Regions from separate parts of the Homo sapiens genome. Here all the other regions are linked to region 5. Evidence: promoter capture Hi-C in 16 types of primary human blood cells and fetal thymus (Javierre and others, 2016). All regions are on one chromosome and are shown on one strand. The core of a region is centred on a gene start or on the middle of the fragment in contact, and the rest is flanking DNA. Distances in the headings are between cores, read along the strand shown.

Evidence for each region. Contacts are between HindIII fragments. The CHiCAGO score rates a contact against its expected background, and 5 or more counts as called.
Region 1: a fragment that was not itself captured here is called in contact with the fragment with the promoter of FHL3 in region 5 in 8 of 17 cell types (M1 macrophages, megakaryocytes, M0 macrophages and 5 more); the score reaches 9.4 in M1 macrophages.
Region 2: a contact is called between a fragment that was not itself captured here and the fragment with the promoter of FHL3 in region 5, in 14 of 17 cell types (naive B cells, total B cells, endothelial precursors and 11 more). The highest score is 13.4, in naive B cells.
Region 3: a contact is called between a fragment that was not itself captured here and the fragment with the promoter of FHL3 in region 5, in 8 of 17 cell types (neutrophils, megakaryocytes, naive CD4 T cells and 5 more). The highest score is 8.7, in neutrophils.
Region 4: a fragment that was not itself captured here is called in contact with the fragment with the promoter of FHL3 in region 5 in 1 of 17 cell types (total B cells); the score reaches 6.6 in total B cells.
Region 6: a fragment that was not itself captured here is called in contact with the fragment with the promoter of FHL3 in region 5 in 17 of 17 cell types (M1 macrophages, erythroblasts, endothelial precursors and 14 more); the score reaches 19.7 in M1 macrophages.

What each region holds. Positions count from the first base shown.
Region 1 is chr1:38,839,116-38,842,458 of GRCh38, forward strand. It overlaps RRAGC (Ras related GTP binding C), which reads right to left. Exons shown (of 7, transcript NM_022157.4): 7 at 1-589. The coding sequence ends at 438. Among named protein-coding and RNA genes, the nearest start is that of RRAGC, 19 kb to the right of the region's middle. The HindIII fragment of the contact is 1,074 bases long and covers 967-2,040 here.
Region 2 is chr1:38,818,522-38,822,122 of GRCh38, forward strand. No RefSeq gene overlaps it. Among named protein-coding and RNA genes, the nearest start is that of RRAGC, 39 kb to the right of the region's middle. RefSeq lists a silencer at 843-1,010. The HindIII fragment of the contact is 513 bases long and covers 1,252-1,764 here.
Region 3 is chr1:38,875,398-38,878,742 of GRCh38, forward strand. GJA9 (gap junction protein alpha 9) reads right to left here. Exons shown (of 2, transcript NM_030772.5): 2 at 1-796. The coding sequence starts at 701. It overlaps RRAGC-DT (RRAGC divergent transcript), which reads left to right. Exons shown (of 2, transcript NR_186075.1): 2 at 544-829. The region is part of intron 1 of GJA9-MYCBP (GJA9-MYCBP readthrough); the gene reads right to left. Among named protein-coding and RNA genes, the nearest start is that of MYCBP, 3.7 kb to the left of the region's middle. The HindIII fragment of the contact is 8,897 bases long and covers 1-3,345 here.
Region 4 is chr1:38,587,031-38,590,463 of GRCh38, forward strand. No RefSeq gene overlaps it. Among named protein-coding and RNA genes, the nearest start is that of LINC01685, 110 kb to the left of the region's middle. The HindIII fragment of the contact is 4,476 bases long and covers 1-3,433 here.
Region 5 is chr1:38,003,523-38,007,249 of GRCh38, forward strand. FHL3 (four and a half LIM domains 3) reads right to left here and starts at 1,992. Exons shown (of 6, transcript NM_004468.5): 1 at 1,835-1,992. RefSeq lists an enhancer at 2-810 and silencers at 1,663-2,022, 2,053-2,112. The HindIII fragment of the contact is 9,980 bases long and covers 14-3,727 here.
Region 6 is chr1:38,855,168-38,858,602 of GRCh38, forward strand. RRAGC (Ras related GTP binding C) reads right to left here. Exons shown (of 7, transcript NM_022157.4): 2 at 1,712-1,915; 3 at 541-740. Among named protein-coding and RNA genes, the nearest start is that of RRAGC, 2.9 kb to the right of the region's middle. The HindIII fragment of the contact is 1,043 bases long and covers 1,227-2,269 here.

The DNA.
Region 1 (3,343 bases), core at 254-2,753, 840 kb after region 5:
TTAAGCAAGGCAGAATTTTTAGAGTCTACTCAAATGAAAGCCTAAGTGAAGCATATAAAAATTCAGTCTTTTCTATTATTTTCAACTGGAATTGATGGCAACATTCCCTGGTAAGGATGGGTAACTGGTGTTATCTCCAGGTCCAAAATATCCCAACTACTTAAAGGGGACCCAAAAGAGGAGAAACACACACTTGAGTTCTGTGGTCTCCAGAATTTTTTTTTTTTTTTTTTGCCATTTTCAAAAAAGATATAGTAGCTTCAGTTGTACACCACCAGTTGAAGGGGTTTTCATCCAAATGAGAAACTCTACCCCTTGTCTCTAGTGGAACAGGCACCAGATTCCCACAAGCAGCAGCTCCCATGTCCTGTAGCACGTGGCATCCGACCCTGGAGTGAAGAGTAAGCTGGCACAGAGCCCCGACGCTGGGATTCAGACTAGATGGCGTTTCGTGGCGTGCCATTGTGTGTCAGCGCTTTCAGACTGGAGGCACTAGTCTGGTGACCACAGCTCCTGTGAGAAGTCACACCCACCTCAAAAACCTCATGAATAGCTTTTCGGAAACAGTGGAAGTTGTAGTCTATTAAACCTGCAGGAAGGAAAAAGAAAAGAATGCCTCCTGAATTGTCAATTGTGAAATTTTATATTTGGGTTTGCAGCCAAAAATAACTCGGATAAACACTGGTTGGAAATTCTTAAGCCTCCAAACTAGATAGCAACTTCTTCAATCGTAAGAACAGCTGGTCATCGGTCAGGTGCAGTGGCTCACGCCTGTAACCCCAGCACTTTGGGAGGCCGAGGCGGGCAGATCACAAGGTCAGGAGATCAAGACCATCCTGGCTAACACGGTGAAACCCCGTCTCTACTAAAAATACAAAAAAAATTAGCCGGGCATGGTGGCGGGCACCTGTAGTACCAGCTACTCAGGAGGCTGAGGCAAGAGAATGGCGTGAACCTGGGAGGCAAAGCTTGCAGTGAGCCAAGATTGCACCATTGCATTCCAGCCTGGGTGACAGAGCGAGACTCCAACTCAAAAAAAAAAAAAAAAAAAGAACAGCTGGTCATCATATATATCCACCATCATAACGTTCTGCTAGAAAACAAATGCGATTGCAATTAGACCATCACCTTGGCCAAATTAATACCTCTGGCATCCAAGTTTCAAATCACTCAATTCACATTCAAGAAAAGTAAAATATTCAAATACACTGTGTGGCCTGCTTGAACATAGTGTGATCTTTCAATAGTTTATATTTGATTTGATGAAAGTCAGTAAATACTTATTACACAGCACGATAGAGGGTACAATATGTCAAAGGAAACAGCAGATATGGTCCATGACTTCCAGACAGGATATGCTAGCTGAGGCATAAAGCCAAAATACAAGAAACAAACCAAAACAATCTGGTGTCAAATTGACTACAACTGTGAAGGAAATCCAAAGAAAAAGCCAAGTGCAGGGCAAAGTAATCAACTGAAAACTTCAGGGACAAGAAAGAACTTGGGGAATACAGACACGATTTAATTAGGCAGAAAAGGGGAACAAAATCACAAGAAAACTGCAGGGACCTGGCCATGAGAATACAGCACAGGTGGAAGACAGGAAAAAAAAATGGTCTGACTGGAGAGTGGGACATCAGAGAACTCTTGGTAGGAAATACTAAGAATCAGGTCTGAATAAGTAGGTTACAGCCAAATTAAGGTGGACCTTCAGACTCAGAAAAGAAACAAACTATAAAAGACAAGTTTTGATCAATTCAACTACATTAAAATTTATTTCTGTGCCAAATGTAAAATAAAAGACAATCAAGGAAATTTGAACACTGGCCAGATATTTGATATCATTAAGTCACTGTTAATTTTGTTGTTTATTGTTTTAAAAACCACTACCTTTTAGAGATACCTACTGAAATCTGCAGAGACAAAATGATTTCATGTCAGGCCTTTGCTTCAAAATAATCCAGTAGGGAAAGTGGTATAAATATGAAACATAATTGGCTATAATTTTGATAACTACTGAATCTGGGCAATGGATTAAAAAGCTTTTATTATACTGTTTTCTCTACTTTTTTATATATTTGACAGTTTCCACAATAAAATAAAAAAGCTTAATAATCTATAATAACTGAGAAGCTCTCCAGGAAACATGATTGAAGTGTGTGGGAATGAGGGCTGAACCCAGGAGCTGAATGCATAGGGACTCCTCGTGCTGCTCCACCTTTGTATACACCTGAAAATTTCCATAAACAAAAATTTTTTTTTTTTTTTATAGACAGGGTCTCACTCTGACACCCAGGCTAGAGTGCAGTGGTACAATCATAGCTCACTGTAACCTCAAACTCCTGTGCTCAAGCAATCCCGCCTCAGCCTCCTGAGTAGAGAGGACTATAGGTGCAAGCCACCACACCCAACTAACTTTTTAATTTTTTGGTAGAGACAGTGTCTTGCTATCTTGCCCAAGCTGGTCTTGAACTCCTGAGCTCAAGCGTCCTCCCACCTCAGCCTTCCAAAGCACTGAGATTACAGGTGTGAGCCACCACACCCACTCTAAAAAAAAAAATTTTTTTAAGATTAAAATGGTTAGGAGCCAGGCACAAGTGATGCACACCTGTAATCCCAGCTATGTGAGAGGCTGAGGTGTGAAGACTGCTTGAGCTCAGGAGTTCAAGACCACCCTGAGCAACACAGCAAGATTCCCATCTCAAAATAAAAACACAAATAAAAAAATAAACTAACATAGGCTGGGCGCGGTGGCTCACGCCTATAATCCCAGCGCTTTGGGAGGCCGAGGCAGGCAGATCACAAGGTCAGGAGATCAAGACCATCCTGGCTAACACAGTGAAACCCCATCTCTACTAAAAATACAAAAAATTAGCTGGGGGCGTGGTGGCGGGTGCCTGTAATTCCAGCACTTCAGGAGGCTGAGGCAGGTGGATCACGAGGTCAGGAGATCGAGACCATCCTGGCTAACACAGTGAAACCCCTTCTGTACTAAAAATACAAAAAATTAGCCAGGCGTGCAGGCGGGCGCCTGTAGTCCCAGCTACTTGGGAGGCTGAGGCAGGAGAATGGCATGAACCCGGGAGGCGGAGCTTGCAGTGAGCCGAGATCGCACCACTGCACTCCAGCCTGGGTGACAGAGCGAGACTCTATCTCAAAAAAATAAATAAACAAATAAACTAACATAGAGAAAAATAAGGAACTGCTAAGAATCAGTGCAAAAAAAGATAAATATATATGGAACAGGTAAAATGTGAAAGAAGAAACCTGAATAGCCATGAAAAGGTACTTGCCATGAAAAGACACTTGCTCTAACCAGTAATTTAAAAAGTAAAAATGAGAA
Region 2 (3,601 bases), core at 258-2,757, 810 kb after region 5:
TACAACTCCTCTGCTCGGGGTCGTCGGGAAACGCAGGACCGAGGGACGGCGCCCCCTCCTTCCCGAGACCACCCGCCCCATCCACTCCGCACCGCACTCCCGTCCAGGGAAGTCTTAAGGAACCCAGTCCCCCTAGACGAGAGGTGGAAGGAGGCGCTGGGGAAATCCTGCAAAGCAGGAATCCGCACTGAACAGCAGGATCCTTTTCCAGGAATTGTAAACCCAGAATTGTAAATAAAATGCTAATGATTTATTCGTGCTCAAACGCCGGGGGCTGCGTCGCCGCTTTTGAAGACAGCTCCAAGCGTGGCTTTCCAGGAAGGCAGGCCTCCCCGCGGCGCCTTCCAGGGCTCCCCGGGGCCTCCTCCCTGGCCGCGGGTCCGGGCTGGGGGACAGGCAGTGGTTCTTGTTGGAGCGCTCCCAACCCGTCCTTCACTGAGACCCGGGTGGTGGTGGAGGAGGTCTTTTTCCTTCCATCCACAGCCGAGTCAGACCCCTCAGCATTCACCCATCATGCATGCAACCAATGCTTCCCCATCGCCAAATACCTACTAAACCCTTAGCTGACCATTGGCAGTCAAAAAACAATCGTGAGAATCACATCTGGTGGGGAAGATTGACTCGATGAATAATCCTACAAATAAACGCGTGCTTCTAAATTACAGTGTCCGGGATAGGGGTAGGGGTGGGGCTGGGGAAGGTAAATACAGTTTTTTAGCTTCCGGGATGTTTTCCATCAAAGTTCTGAGAGCCTGAAGGGGCGCTGAAGGGGCGCTGAAGGGATCGAGTCTAGCCTTCTCTTGTGAGTCTTGACTACCCTACATATTTAAGGTATTTCATTAAAGGGTGAGCTTTAAAAAAATAATAAAATAAATAATTCAAGCAATATGCATTTGCATCTGTGGCTGCCATGGTAGCTCTCTGATGCCTGACCTGGCTGGGGAAGGTGGGAGCCCGGGGGGGGCGGGTCACTGATCTTAGGCAGGAGGAGGTAGAAAACAAGGACTTTCCTTCAAACTATGCAGCCTGTCCAGCTGACCAGAGCAGCAGAGATGGCTCAGTTTTCAGCTGCCTCTCCTGAGTTGACAGGAGGCATGCAAGAGACCCCAGAAGTGGGCTCAGAGCTACCTAGAGAAGCTTCCGTGGTCACAGGGCCTCCACCTCAGGGCCAGGAGACCTGGAGTGGCCCTACCCAGCTCTCCCACAACTCCCTGCAAAAGCACATTGCAGGCTTTGTTTGTTTTCAATAAAAGCTTCTCTTTCCCACACTCCCTTTATATAGTTTCTAGAGAAATAGCACGTCTGGTTAATACTGACCTTCCTAAGGTCTTTTTGAATGTAAGACACAAATGTATCAAGGATGATCAAGGTTCCTACCTCTACCAGCAAGCTGATTTTTTGCATTTGGTGGGCCTCCATCAGACCACCAAGGAAACAGTCATAGATTGTACTGTGGAGGAAATTCAGGCGTCCCGCGGAGGCCTAAGCTGAGTGACCTTTATTCTTGTGTTCACTGGACAAATGTTTATTGATCTCCGCCTATAGACTGACTCCATCCTGGGCCTTGGGGATTTAAGACAGATAAAACAACTCCTGCTCCCAGTGGGCTCACAACCTGAGTCAGGTGCCTCCTTTGCAAAGTAAGGAATTCTGGGATTGCCACCCCTTGCCCCTTGGACCTCCCACCACCTCCACACACACAATTATATGTCCCTTAAATTAGTGTATATTTTGAGGGAATTCATGAAACAATCAGGTCCCTGAAGCTTAAAAAAAAAAAAAGTGATATTTGGTCAGAGCAACCAGGAACAAAGTCCAAAAACAACCTCTTTGGGGTACCCTTGTTGCAATACCCATACCCTAGGCTGAGCTATGTTAAGGATCACACTTTACTTCACAGGGCAGTGTTCTAGTAGATTTCTTTAAAATAATTCACAGTGTTGGAATCTCACAATGTTGGATCAAAGAAATAAGACACAAAAGAGCACACACAGTATGACTCTATTTACATAAAGTTTAAAGCAGGCAGTAATATGCTATTTGGGTGTAAAATTATGAAGAAAGGCAAGGAAATGATCATCACAAAAATTAAGATCATGATCACTTCTAGGAGAGAGAGTGTTGAGATAAAGGACTCTTAGCTCATATGGTGGGTTTCTGTGAGGCTGGCAATACTCCATTTTTGACCTGGGTGGTGGTTACAAAGGTATTTGCTTATAAATTATTTGTCAGATTGTATCTATGTTTTATGCACTTTTACATATGTAATAGCCCCAAATTTTAAAAATGTTAATAAAAAGATAAAGGAAGAAAAAGAACATCCAGCCTATTTTTAAAATGCATTATAATTTTCTCAAACTGAATTCTTCAGTTTGGGTGTCTGTATCTTGCCTGAATTCTCTATCACTGCTTGTATCAACCATTTGATGGTTGCAACAGGTTCTGATCCTGACTCAGCCTTACAGACACTGGGAAGGCAAAAAGCTGAGCCCAGGAGACTTGCACTCTAGTTCTACAGTATTACTAATTCATTGTATGACCTTCCCTCTCTGGGCCTCAGTTTCCTCTACTGCACAATGGCAGGGGTTACAGGAGATGACTTCTCAGGTCTGTGGTCATGTGACAGGTGCCTCGGATCCCACACATCTTGCAGTGATGTCACTGCCAGAACAAGTGAACATCCCCAAAGCAAAGCCATCAAACACCCAAGGTGGCCCTCTGATACTGCCACAGACTGTTTCTGGGGGCTGGCACCCTGCCTTTCACCACCTCCAGAATCTACAGCTAGAGAATCACTCCATCAGTTCTCAGATTCCTCCCCTCTGCGGAGACAAGAAATGTCTTTGGGCCTGATGTCCCTCGGGGATGTGAACACCGCTAAAATCCCATTGATTAATCGGGTCCCACCCTTGGATCAATGGCTGGCATTAGAGGAGCTTAGCGCAGTTTTATTAGTCTGGCTGCCCTCTTGCAGATGTTATAGATGAAGAAATAAAATGAGGAGGAGAGGGAAAAAGGACAAAATCATTAGTCTGAAAGGAGCAAAAGAGCATCTTCTCTGTTTTGTATTCAGATTTAGAGCTGCGCTGTCCAAGCCAGGAGCACACACAACAATCCATTTGTATGCTGTTTCCAGGAGTTCAGCTAGGCCTCCTGCTTTCCCACTTTGCCTGATCGCTGAGATCCCAGGAGCATTTGGTCCGCAGCAATTGCCAGCCCAACCTCTGAAGCCATTTTGCAGGGCTACGAAAACACCTGAGGTCCCATTCATTCATTTATTCATTTCTCACAAGGGCAGAAGGCTTTTGCCTGACGTAGGGAAACAGGCCTAAGTATCTACCAGATAATCCATCTTGAAAATGTCATATTTGCTCTGAAGGGACTGGTCCTTCCACAGGCCTTGCAGAGAAGCCTGCTATAGCCCTCACCTTACCAAAGCTTTGGTTCCAACAGAGAAAACCCAAGGGCTCAGCTTGCTAAAGCTCTCCAGAGAGGCACTTTGAATTAAGACCAGAAATGCTTTTAAAAGACTCTGGTCTCTGGTCTTCTAATGATGACCTCTTCCTTAATTTTGTGATGGCTTCATCTGCCTCTTTCGATC
Region 3 (3,345 bases), core at 208-2,707, 870 kb after region 5:
CCTAGGTGGAAAATTTCAAGAATGTTTAAGAAAAGTGAAATAGTGGCTATAGATTGCATAAATAATAGGAATATTGTCTTTTCTGTTGGTCTTGAGACAAAACAGTCGATTATATTTGGACACGGGTGGCCATGGCACTTAAATAGCGGCTCTAAGTGAAATCCATATAAAAGGTACTGTCCAATCATGAATCCAACTTCAACCACAGAGCGAGTGAAAATGTGTATCACATAAGTGCAAAGCAAGGTTCCTCTGAGTGGAGCTTTATTTAGTTTCCTTTTCTCCAGCTGACAAAGCTCTTGCTCCAATCTCCTCCGATCCCTAGGCATTTCAAACTCTACCTCCTCCAGTTCTACTCTTAACTGAGCTTTCATCCTTTGCCTCTCTTCCTCAAGAACTCTCAGTCGGTACAATGCATGGCCCATGTAGACCAGGGATGGTGAAGACACAAATATCACCTGCAGAACCCAGTATCTAATGAGGGAGATAGGAAAGGCCTGGTCGTAGCATACATTTCTGCAGCCTGGTTGTTCTGTATTGCAGATGAAGCCAGACTGCTCATCATTCCAGACATCTTCAGCTGCTACACCCAGAACAAGCATTCGAAATATGAACAGGATGGTGAGCCAGATCTTTCCAATCATGGTGGAGTGGATGTGAACTTCCTCCAGAGTATCTCCAAGGAGATTCCAGTCCCCCATGTTTATTTAGTCAGCCATCTTAGCTCTGATCCACATCAAATAAGAGGCAGATAAATTCTTCCATTCTGAAGGGAGCACTATTTCTTAAAGCAAACCTATGGTGAAAATATAACAATATGTCACTTCTATATGCTGGTTGCTTTACTTTTTCCCTAGATAGCTGTGGGGTTTTTTCTTTGTTTGTTTGTTTGTTGAGACAGAGTCTCCCTCTGTTGCCCAGGCTGGAGTACAGTGTTGCAACCACAACTCCCTGCAGCCTCAACCTCCCAGACTCAAGCGATCATCTCCCCTCTCAGCCTCCTGAGTAGCTGGGACTGCAGGTGTGTGCAACTACACCCAGATAATTTTTTTTATTTTTTTGTAGAGACAGGGTCTCACTCTATTGCTGCAGCTAGTCTTAAACTCCTAGACTCAAGTGATCCTCTTGCCTTCACCTCCCAAAGTGTGGGAATTACAGGTGTGGGTCACCACACCTGGCCAAAGTGTGAATCTGTTACCAATAATATACTTAAATGTCAGGAATTTAAAATCACTTATATTTAGACATCACAATACAATGAAAAAAACATGATACCTGGAGGAGGAGTGTATATATTCTCTATTAAGAATATAGGCTGGGCGGGGTGGCTCACACCTGTAATCCCAACACTTTGGGAGGCCAAGGTGGGTGGATCATTTGAGGTCAGGAGTTCCAGACCAGCCTGGCCAACATGGTAAAACCCCGCCTCTACTAAAAATACAAAAATTAGCCAGGCGTGGTGGCAGGCGCTTGTAGTCCCAGCTACTCGGGAGGCTGAGGCAAGAGAATCGCTTGAACCTGGAAGGCAGAGGTTGCAGTGAGCTGAGATCAAACCCTTGACCTCAGATGATCTGGCCACCTCGGCCTCCCAAAGTGCTGGGATTACAGGCATGAGCCAATGCGCATGGCCTAAAATTATATTCTTTTTTTTTTTTTTTTTGAGACGGAGTCTCACTCTGTAGCCCAGGCTGGAGTGCAATGGCATGATCTCAGCTCACCGCAACCTCCACCTCCTGGGTTCAAGCGATTCTCCTGCCTCAGCCTCCTGAGTAGCTGTGATTACAGGCATGCACCACCATGCCCGGATAATTTTGTATTTTTAGTAGAGATGATGTTTCTCCATGTTGGCCAGGCTGGTCTCGAACTCCTGACCTCAGGTGATCTGCCCACCTCGGCCTCCCAAAGTGCTGGGATTACAGGCGTGAGCCACCATGCCCAGCCTATTGTTGTTTTTCAACAGAACTTTTGGAAAGGTTTCTAAAACTAGTAACCTGATCTTAACCTTATTTATTAAGATTATTTGATATAAAAGTTATAACAAAGTCAATTTCTTTTTCCCCAACATGCCATTACTGGCTTGAAAAGTCAGTGATTTTTTTTTCTTTCTTTCTTTCTTTTGGGACAGAGTCTTGCTCTGTCGCCAGGCTGGAGTGCAGTGGCGCAATCTCGGCGCATTGCAACCTCCGCCTCCTGGGTTCAAGCGATTCCCCTGCCTCATCCTCCTGAGTAGCTGGGATTACAGGCGCCTGCCAACACCCCCCGGGATAATTTTTTGTATTTTAGTAGACACGGGGTTTCACCATGTTGGCCAGGATGATCTCGATCTCCTGACCTCGTGATCCACCCGCCTCAGCCTCCCAAAGTGCCAGGATTACAGGCATGAGCCACCGTGCCCGGTCAAAAAGTCAGTGATTTTTAAATCTCATTTATACACATAGGAAAACGAATATGCTTCATTTGATAATTCAGTAAGATATGGCATTCAGTGAAACCAGAGGAAACAGATCTGGCTGTCATAGGAATTTAGATTAGTTTTTTTAATCCAAATTGAAATAAATTTGAAATAAATTCTGGTTTCTTCCTGGCAATTGGTGAACATTTTCAGAAATTCATCTCAGTAATATTTATGAATATGTATAAAGTACTTATTATACTTTACTATGAAAAAGTATACTTTTTTTCTTTTTTTTTGGTGGGGGGAGACAGAGTCTCACTCTGTTGCCCAGACTAGAGTGCAGTGGCAGGATCTCAGCCCACTGCAACCTCCACTTCCCAGGTTCAAGTGATTCTCGTGCCTGAGCCTGCCAAGTAGCTGAGACTACAGGCAAGTGCCACCACGCTTGGCTAATTTTTGTATTGTTAGTAGAGACGGGGTTTCACCATGTTGGCCAGGCTGGTCTTGAACTCCTGAACCTTGAGTGATCCACCCGCCTCGGCCTCCCATAGTAAGCCACCGCGCCCAGCCCAAATTTTGTAAATTCTTACGTTAAAATGAACTTCAAGCCCAGCACAGTGGCTCACACCTGTAATCCCAGCACTTTGGGAGGCCGATGCGGATCACCTGAGGTCAGGAGTTCGAGACCAGCCTGGCCAACATGGTGAAACACTGTCTCTACAAAAATACAAAAAATTAGCTGGGTGTGGTGGCAGGCATCTGTAACCCCAGCTACTCAGGAGGCTGAGGCAGGAGAATCACTTGAACCTGGGAGGCAGAGGTTGCGGTGAGCCAAGATCGCGCCATTGCACTCCAGCCTTGGCGACAAGAGCAGAAACTCTGTCTCAGAAAACAAAAAGAACTCCAAAAATTCTCAACTATTTTATGGTACCAGAATCTTTTTTTTTTTT
Region 4 (3,433 bases), core at 286-2,785, 580 kb after region 5:
CCTCCTGGCTTAGCACGGTCTCTAGTCCTTCCAAGATGGCAGCAGTGTGTAGAGGGAAGGCAGTCTTGGAGCTCTCAGAGTCATTTGGGGTGCTGACTTCCTCGGTCCCGAATGCCTGCCTGCAGGCTTCTGCCTGGTTCCCTGGCTGGGTCCGTGGGCCAGTGATTTCTAGCCTCCCTCTCCACCCCAGGGCTGCTCTTGGCTGCCCCCTTGCTGTCAGGAGCCCCTACTGCAGCAAGACACAGATCAAATCTGTGGGAAGTTTGCTCCTTGTTAGGATAACGTTTGACAAACTGCTTAAAGCATCCCCCAAATCCCCTCAATGTCTTTAGTCCTCTGAGGCTGAATCTTCCAGTAAAGATGACATCCTTTTTAGATCTCTGCTCCCTCCTTGTCAGAAAGTTGTACTCTATGGGCCAGGTACCGTGGCTCATGCCTGTAATCCCAACACCTTAGGAGGACAAGGTGAGGGGATCACTTGAGCCCAGAAGTTTGAGACCAGCCTGGGCAACATAGTGGAGCCCCGTTTCTACAAAAATAAATAAATTAGCCAGGCGTAATGGTGCACTCCTGTAGTCCCAGCTACTCGGGAGACTGAGGTGGGAGGATGGCTTGAGCCCAGGAGGTAGAAGTTACAGTGACCGGTGATTGCACCACTGCACTCCAGCCTAGGTGACAGAGAGAGACCCTGTCTCAAAAAATAAATAAATAAATAAATAAAGCTGTATTCTACATAGCACCAAAGAATGAACACTGCCCAGTGAACGATGATTTCAACTCCATCTCCTCAAAATTGTCCTGCACTTTACAGAAGCTCCTGCTTCACTGAGTCCTTATAAGTGAGTGACATTTTGCAAATACATTGGACTTCCCATTGGTTCCTCCCCAACAGCCACTGGCAACTGGCCAGGCCCAGAAATCCAGATGTGTCCTCTCCATCTGCTAAGTCCTGCCAGACATATGAAGGATGCTTTCTCTTTATCCTTTTCTGTCAGGAGTGTCTGGTAATCCCACTCCTAAACAACCCTGAACATCCCTGCATTTCTGCCAAGCTCTCTAAGGCATTCCAAACTCAGGGCATGCTGTCTCCATCACTGTTGGTTTGTTTGGTGTCCTGTAATGCACGCACATTCTCATCTTCCCAAATGTCTTATGTGCAACCATAGATGGAATTACATATGGACTCTTGGACTTGGGAATAATGCCATGAATTAACATTCTCTTCTAAAATGAATTAATATTTTCCCCTAAAACATTTGTTTATAGAGAATCTTTCTAAAGTGCTCTCTCAAAAAGTCCTGTAACTCTCTTCCAGGGATTCCTTTTTTCACAGCCCATTGATGAAGAGAAAACACGTTTCTCGTTGCTTGAGGTTTCCCTATCAATTTCTCTGTACAGTCCTCAAGTTCTGGGATCGCCAAAGTCCAGTGGGTTCTTCTGCCTCGGAGACTGCCAGCTGAGGCGTGTCAGAGGTCATCCTCCTGCGTCCCAGTTTTTATGTCATGGTAAGTACCAGCAAAAGGCCTGTGTTGGTTGAGTGATGGCCTATCTCTCTCTGCCCATTGCTAATTGGGGTGCACAGAGAATGTATGCGGAGACTGGCAAGATGCTGCCGCCTGTCTATGACCCGTGAAGGAAGGCTAACCCCGGACAGAGGGGAGACCTGGTCCCACTGCATGGCTCAGTTTGTCCAGAGATGCTGTGGTAATGCCTCACCATAGCAGGTCCACAACCTCTCAACCCCACCACCCACCCTGGGAAGTTTCAAGCTCCCACAACATACCCCAGGCAGGGTCATTCTCTGCACCTGGGCCACTGACATCAGGCCCCATCAGAATTTGTAAAGGAACATGGGCTAGGTCGTGGGCATAGAATGACTGAAACAATAGTGATTTCTATGTTCAAGATACTTCTTCCTTCATTTGCCTAGACCTCTTTGAGGTTTCACTGGCCTCAGAGAGAAGGCCTGGGATTACAGGATGGTAGCTTCCATAGAAGGGCCTTGGATCACAGGCAGGTTTGAACCTATGATTTCTTGGGCCTGTCTTGCTCTGGCCTTGGGCAGAGAACCACCCCCATTACTCACACATTGTGCCCCAATCCCACCCACTGAGAGGCCCTGGGACCTGGCTGGGAATCAGGAGCCCCACCCACCCCTCCCACCGGTGGGTAGAACATGCAAGCTGTTGTGTCACTCTGAGCTCAGTCCTGGCCTGTGTTCAGGGCTCTGGGCCAAGCCTCCAGGGGTTCAGTAAGCTGCAGACTCCCCCAGGGCCCTGGGAGTGGAGCACTGTCCTGGGCATCTGCCTGGTTACTCCTCTCACCTCCACAGCTTTGGCTTCATTTACATCACCCTGAATCTTGTTCTGAAAAATCTTTTACAGTAGGAAGGAACCCAGCCAGGGGACCTCTCTGGCCAGGGGCCAAACTCCAAATCAGAGCATTCAGAAGACTCTGCTGCTCACATCCAACCTGCTTCCCCTCTGGCCTGTGGACAATGACTCCTGAGGATCAAACCCACAAGGGAGTGTATTTCTCAGCCTTGGACTGGCCTTGTTCAGGTTTTCTCCTCTCTCCCTACACCCTCCACTCCCCCAGCATAGAGGTTCTAGCTGCCCAGGGCGGGCACTACACAGATGGACTAATTGGGACTGGCACCCATGGGTGTGAAAATCGTCAACTATCTATACTGATTAATGGGTTAGTGTCAACCTGGAGAAGAGTTTAAAGACTGCCCTCAATGTCTGTTTTTAATGTCCTAAACCAGCATACACTTTCATGGGGGGCAGCATCTGTGCCAGGTGCTGTGTATAGCACATTCACAGAATCCATCTCTCTGCGGCCTGAGTAAAGACATCCAGGGCAGACAGAGCAGGAGGCCAGGAGGGGCAGCAAGGAGGCCAGGAGCTAGAATCAGGACATGAGAAGACCTTACTGGCTGGAGCAATTGGACAAAATAGAATGTTCTGGGGACCCAGGGCAAATCCTGGACTTCTGGCAACACAGTGAACGGAGCTGATACAAAAGGGCCTCCCACCTCCCACAGCCACATAGATATGAAGATTGCAAACACATAGTTGAGATTAAAAGAAAGAACTGGGATCCCCAGGCCTCTGGTAGAGACCCCAAAGCCAAAGCTATAAGCAGAAACAGAGAGTACAGTGGTCCCAGGTGTCTTGGACCTAGTGACTTGGGGGGGCTGGGATTTTAATAATCCCAGGGGCTGCACTGTGGCCTTCTGCCTGCACAAGGTAAGAGCATCAAGGGTCAAGGAAAACTATTTCCATCAGTTCAAGGAAGCATCAGACAGATTTCTAGGCCCATGGATGGAAATAAATTGTAAGTCATCTGCAAGAAATCAGAATCCTAGGTGACTCTTCCGTGTAGGTCTGAATTTATATTCCCTAGGTGGTGGAGGAGCCCCAGGCTGCCC
Region 5 (3,727 bases), core at 742-3,241:
CCTGACTCTAGTAAGCTTAACTCTTGAGATCTCTCATGCAGGTCCACGGATGTAGACACCTGCATGCTGCTTTGCCACTCACAAAGTCCATGCCCACCACAATCTCATCAGATCTCACAAAAGGCAGGCAGGACAGAGTATCATCCCCATTTTACAGCTGAGCACAAGGAGGCCAGGAATAGAGCAGGTTCATGCCCAAGGTCCCGATCAGGACCCAGGTCCCCTGCCTCCCAGCCCAGAGCTCTTCCCTCTCCCTAAAAATGCTGCCCTGGTGATGAAGCGGATGGTGACATGGGGGTGGTCAGTTTTTAAGGGCAGGGGAACAGGAGATGCACCAGAGCCTGGCTCTTCTCCTCAGCTGCTAGCCCTGTGATTGGAAGACACCCAGAAGCCTTTCCAATGCCCCATGCCAACCATTCAATCCTTCTGCCCCCACCCCCAACATGCCCACTGTCCAGGAGGACCCTGGCCAGGTCCCACAGCTGTGAGTCAGGATCAGAACAGACCCCTCCCCCACCTTCTAGAAGCTGACAGGAGACTTAAGGGGAGAAATCCAACTCCCTCAACCCTCACCCTCTGCTACCGGGCACCAACCCCAAGCTCTGCTCTCCCCCATGTGGCCTGGAAGTCAGAGAAGTTTAGGGAAGGGGGTTGGGGAGCAAGATCCCGCAGCTGCTCTGGGGACATGAGAGGAACAGTTCATTCACCCTGGGTCCCCCAGGGCTGAGGCAGCCCATCCAAGATTTGAGTTCAAAAATAAGTTGGGGCTGTCTTGGTGGCTGTGTGTGTGCGTGGGGCTCTTCTTGATCTCGAACTTACTGTCTCAGGGCCTCTGCCTCATGGGGGATCGGTAGGCTCAGAGTTTCTGTTTCCCCACAGCCTCACCTCCCAATGGTTCAGGCCCGGGTAAGTCAGGGGCTGTCCTGGAAGCTGTCAGACCACCTAGGTCTCTCTGCCCCCACTTAGTCTCAGTTTCTGGTGTCTGTCTCTGCTTCACTCAGCATCTCTGTGTCTGGGCACACTTCAGTCTCTGTCTTTAGGTTTTGGACGGCTCTGTATCTTGACTGGCTGTCCCCCAGGGGGCCCATGCCTCTGTGGATCTCAAGTCTTGGTCTCTTCTTGTCTACATGGCTGAATGTCTCAATCCCCACCACCTCCCTTTCTCTGTCTCTGCATCCAAGTCTCTTTCGCCACCTCTGCACGCCTGAATGTCTCTGTCTCTAGTCTCTGAGCGTCTCTGCAGGCCTCAGAGAGCAGATTCAGCATGAGGCCAATGACGCCCAAGCCTCAGGGCACCTCCAAGGCCCGGGGAAGGGCCCTAGGGAATGTGTTCGCTGGGGTCCCACGTATGCTTTTTCTGAAAATGCTCCACAAAGCCTAGGACGGCCCCCATGCCTCGGGTCTGTCCACCAGTAACTCTGTACGCCCGGTGTGTCCTTGTTTCAGTGGTCTCGGTAGCCTCCTGTGCCTCGAGTCCCTGCCTGTCTCGGTCTCTCGCTCCACCGGGCTTTCCGAGAACCTCAGTTTCTCCAGCGCTTCTGGTCGGTCGGTCTGTCTGTCTCTCTCCGGCTTTTCTATTTCAAACTTAGCCCCCTCCCCCGCCCAACTCTCGCTGCCGCCCCCGCCCCCGCCCCGCCCGATAGCCCGGAGGGGTCCAGTCCCGGCGGGCGCTGTCCCGGGCTCGGCGTGCCCCGGGCACCCGTGGCCAGAGCCCGGCGGGTACAGGGGACCGGGGCCGCGGCTGGCCTCAGCCCTCCGCGGGTCCCTTCGCTCCCCGGCCTGGGCGCGGGGGCGGACCGCCAGGGCTGGGAGCCGGGGTCGGCGGGGCGCTCACCTCGAAGCGGGCGGCGGGAGCGGGGAGCGCGCGGCGCAGGCGGGGCCGGGAACCGGGCGCCGCGTCCCTCGGCGGCTCCTACCTGCGGGCCGGGCCAAGCGGGGGCCGAGCGAGCTGCCGGCGAGGCTGCCGACTGCAGACGGACCGTGTGGGCGAGTGGGAGCGCGGCCCCAACCCCTCCCCGAGGAAGTGAGCGCGGGCCCGCCCCGCCCGGACCCCGCCCCCGGCCCCCCAGCCCGCCGCGGGGGCCAGACCCCGCCCCCACCTCCCTTTCGGCCGCCAGTCGGCCCGGCCCCCTCCTCCCGCCCGGCCTAACCTGGCTCTCCCAACCTTCAAGCGGCCGGGACCCCGCCCCTGTCCCCTCCCCGCAGCCTCTGTTCTCCTCCCCTCCCACCCCCCATCCCCAGCTGCCAGAGGGAGACTGCTGTATTCCATCTCAGGCCGGCGACACGAGACCCCGCAGACCATGGTCCACTGGGGGAGTCCTCTGGCCTCCTCGGATCCCCCCACCCCTTCACCTTACCCCAGGGGTGACACTCAGCCCGGCCTTAATCCAGCCTGGAGGAGGACGTTTTGACTCTGCTGTCATGAGCCTGTCAGCGGGCACCAAGGTGTTCTCTGAAAACATGGGACGAAGAGAGGACCCCTCCCCACCATAGGGCCTTGACCTCCAAAGGGTTTTATTCCACAACTTTGAGTAGCAAAAACAGGGGTAACCACCTCCCCACTTCCAGCAGCCTCCTGACACTGAGAAGTCCTGCCTTGCCTGGGTTTCCGCAGTGCCCAGGAATAGTTTTGACCTTTGAGGCCCGGGGGAGACCCTAATCCTCGGCCCCATGATCTTTGGGCTTCTAGGGTGGGGTGTGAGGAGTGTGAGAGGATGGGGCACCTCAGGGGTGGTGGAGGAGAGGGGAGGGGACCTCTGCGGTGTCTGAGCCTCTGGCTTCCTCCCTGTGTCCGTGAGGGAGGACTGGCGCCTGCTAGGGACACGAGGCCCCTCCAGGTCCTTAAGGCCACCCCCCCTGGGATCCTCAGGCTTGTCACTAGGAATAAATAGCCTCAGTCTGGAAGAGGTGGGGGAGGGAGGGAGGCAGGAGGCTCTACTGTGCTGTTTGTGGAAACAAGAGACAACAAATCAACCCCGGAATAACCTTAGCATCTAGAGTGAAGATTCAGGTGCCCACAGAGGCCTCCCCACACCCCAGGCTGGGTGTAGCAGAGCTCTCACGGAGGAACTAACACCCTCCCAGGCTGGGGCTCCTGAGAACCTTTCCGTCCCATCTCTGCATCATGCCTGGGTTCCTGGGTCCCAAGTCACCCACCAGGTCTGGTTTCCTTTCAAAATTAAATCATTGCTTGCTTATTATTGCTGTTGTTGCCTAAATGGTAAGAGCCATGAAGGCAGGGCTCCGTTTTGTTCCCCACTGCCTTCTCAGTACTTACTCCAATATCCGGCACATAATAAACATCTGATGAATGAATGGATACCAGACACTGCTTCAGTATGTATGCCCCTCTAACATCCTCGGTTTGGATCACAGGCACCTGCTATCTGGAGTCCAGGCAGTGAGCATCCAGCCCATGGATGGGGCCTTTTTCTGGGATTTTTTTTTTTTTTTTTTTTTTTTTTTTTTTTGAGATGGAGGCTTGCTCTGTTGCCCAGGCCGGAGTGCAGTGGCGCACTCTCCGCTCACTACAACCTCCACCTCCCAGGTTCAAGCGATTCTTCTGCCTCAGCCTCCCAAGTAGCTGGGACTGCAGGTGTGCACCACCACGCCCGGCTAAATTTTTTTTTTGTATTTTTAGTAGAGACGGGGTTTCACCATCTTGGCCAGGCTGGTCTCAAACTCCTGACCTCAAGATCTGATCTGCCTGCCCCAGCCTCCCAAAGTG
Region 6 (3,435 bases), core at 498-2,997, 850 kb after region 5:
GTTTTAAAAGCTAAGATATATTACAGTCAGTCCAGGGGGGAGGTGGAAGGGAGCCAGCAGGAAAAATAAAAATGAAAAATAAAAAGAGTCAGTCCAGATTTGAAAGTGCACTCTCTGTATAAGGCTGTTCCTACTGAGAAAGATACTGTCTAAGACTCAAGCTAAAGACTTCCACAACAAATGTGACAGATTCACTTCACTGATGCAAGGCGGGGAAAAGTAATGAAACCAAGAGGAAGGAGTCCCAAAGCAGATTTATGCCATGAAGAAACAGCCTGACTCCAGTCTCTTGAGATGAATTTGGAAAAGCACCAGTGGAAACACTTCACATGACTTCAATCTCCAGGAAAACGCAAAAAGTGGGTAATTTCTCAATATCAGGCTCCCCAGACAGCCTGGAATTCAACAACAAGATCAAAAACATAAAAGATGTGGCAAAGGGCACACAGGTAGCAGAAAGCTATGGTGTTTGTAATGACAGAGATGGGAATACATTTACACCTTGTTCAGGGCTTTCATATCAAACACACATGTTGTTACCTAAGATGGAGTTTTTCTAGCCCAGCATCTGCAAGGTCATCATTGGCCCTTTGATGAATGTCCCTCTGTGTTTCTATTTTGTGATCATCAGACAGACCATCAACTTTGTGAATAAAAACCTCAAAATTCATGTCTGGGTTAACTTTGTAGGCTTTAGAAACAGTAATGTGAAGTCTTGTTAAAGCCTCCATGTAGTCATCCTGTAAGTCAGAACAAAATATTTTTTAAAATAAATCTTACAAAAGCCAAGTAATGAGTTAAAGCCTCAAACCACCTCTTTCCCCAACCACAGAAAAATACTATCCTAATTATCATCAATATTCAAACATTCAAATATACTATACTACTAAATAACTCTTCAATTGTCTCAAGATAAAAAAATTCAATTACCAAGTTAATGCTTGTAATTTTTAATATTAATTTAAGAAAGAAAAAAATGATATGAACATTTTTTCCCAACATAATTTTTTTAAGTAATCCCAGCTCTGCCATTTATTCAGTGTGTCACTTTAAGCAAGCTGCTTAAACTCTGATCTCAGTTTTCTCATCTGTAAGATCAGAATTACAATACCTACCTAACAATATTGTGAAGCTTAAATTAATTAGGTCCTGTACGTGAAGGCACCCTCTGTAGAGCCTATCACTCAGAAAGCATTCTTAACTAATGCTTAAGCTTATAAAAAGTAAGCTTCTTAAAGGATAGGGACTTGCCCCATTCATCTCACTGACTGCCACATGCTAGGCCCTCCATAAATGTTTGTTGAGCTAAACTCAATTTTGACAATTAAGTAAACTATTCACTCTAATATCTACTGACTCAGTTCTCATATTCCTCTTTATGTTATGGGATGGGATATTTTCAGGGAATAACATCACTATTATTATAAAATTATTATAAAATATGGCAACCAATAAAAGTGGAAAGCCAATGTTAGCTGCTCATCAACTAGGACTCAAGGATGTAAACCATATCTCCTAATCATCTGATATTCTGTACCTGCACAATGCATGTCTGCTCCCAAAGCACTCTGCAACTGCATCTCTTACACTGTTAGGGAATCTACTGCCAAAGAGATAAGCTGCAACCACATGACAAAGAAGATAAACAACTTTCCTTTGTTTCTACATCTTTTTCCCACCAGGAAAGAGGAGTAAACACATTACTGACTACCTGTGCGTCAATGACGTATATCAATGCTCCTGTTCCCCTGAAGATCATCTCATAGTCAAAGGTTGGGTCAAAAAAGTCCATTTGCCCAGGAAAATCCCATATCTGGAAATTCACAAAGGAGCTATTGGAAATGTCATCCTTATAAATCTTGTTGGTACTTTCCAAAAAGAGGGTCTCGTTGGGTGACATCTTATGAAACACCACCTGTTAAAAGAAAACAGGCAATTTTATGACTATTAAACTTCAGAATTTAAATTTAAAATTCCACCCTGGTTTAACATTTAAACATTTGATCCCACAAAAAAAAATTTTTTTTGAAAAGTAGAAACTGAATGGTGAATCCATTGGTATTCACTATCCCTTTATTTTTGACAAAAGAAGACACCAAATTAATTTCCATTAAATCTATTTTGGAGCTAAATCTTTTCTCCTATGTTCTATGCACCATACTCAGTACTAATAGTAGCAATCTCTATCACCTCCATTAGTTTTTCTGGGGGAAAGCTAACATTAATTCTACCAAAATCTGCTTTAAGATTATAAAAGTCTTACAGCTAAAGCTTAAGAAGTCTGGTTTATTCAAAAATTACTTGAATGCCTACCTCAGGCTCTGAGGAGTAATTTAAAAAGTGAAACAGACTGGACTCTGCCCTCACTGACTTTGCAGTCTAAGAAGGGCAGTAACTATACCAAGTAGAAAGTGAAAACGTCCAGGGGGAGGCCACGGGGACTGACAGGGAAAAGATAGCTCTCATGAGAAAAGAAACGTAAAGGCAATTGTTAAGAGTCACAATAATCGGCCCGGGTGCGGTGGCTCACGCCTTCAATCCCAGCACTTTAGGCGGCCGAGGCGGGCGGATCACTTGAGGTCAGGAGTTCGAGACCAGCCTGACCAATATGGTGAAACCCCATCCCCACTAAAAATACCAAAATTAGTCGGGCGTGGTGGTGCACGCCTGTAGTCCCAGCTACTTGGGAAGCTGAGGCAGGAGAATCACTTGAACCCAGGAGGTGGAGGCTGCAGTGAGTGAAGATCACACCACTGCCCTCCAGCCTGGGCGATGAGCAAGACTCCATAACAAACAAACAAAAAAAAAAGGATCACAATAATCACAACCTACACAGTTCTAACATAAAACTACTTTGCCTCTTACTGTCTAGAAGAGAAAAGTGAACAATTACTCTCAAGGTTTTCTCAGTAACAAATGTGAATAACTGAAATTAGTTTACTAAAAACCTACAGTCAACGTACCCAAGTTTTGCTGTAGAGGTGAAAATCAAGGTAAATAAAACACAGTACTCCAGCAAACCTGGAAGAACGCTGCTTTTTAAAAAGATCCCATCTACAAAATATCACAGATTCAGAAAGAAAAAAAAATCACAGATTTATTTTGGATAGGCCTTTGCAACAGAGTGGAGAGGTGAAAAGACCAGGTGCCTGCTGATACTAGTTTTATTACCAGCTCACTCCGCGTATAATGGGTTTGGCTGATGGAGGAAGTCAACCTTGCCTCTATTTAACCCTCACTAAACAGTGTAGGCCAGCGTGGTGACTCACACCTGTAATCCCAGCACTTTGGGAGGCCAAGGCGGATGATCACTTGAGGTCAGCAGTTCGAGATGACCCTGGCCAACATGGTGAAACCCCGTCTCTACTAAAAATACAATAATTAGCCGGGCGTGGTGGCGCGCGCCTGTAATCCCAGCTATTCGGGAGGCTGAGG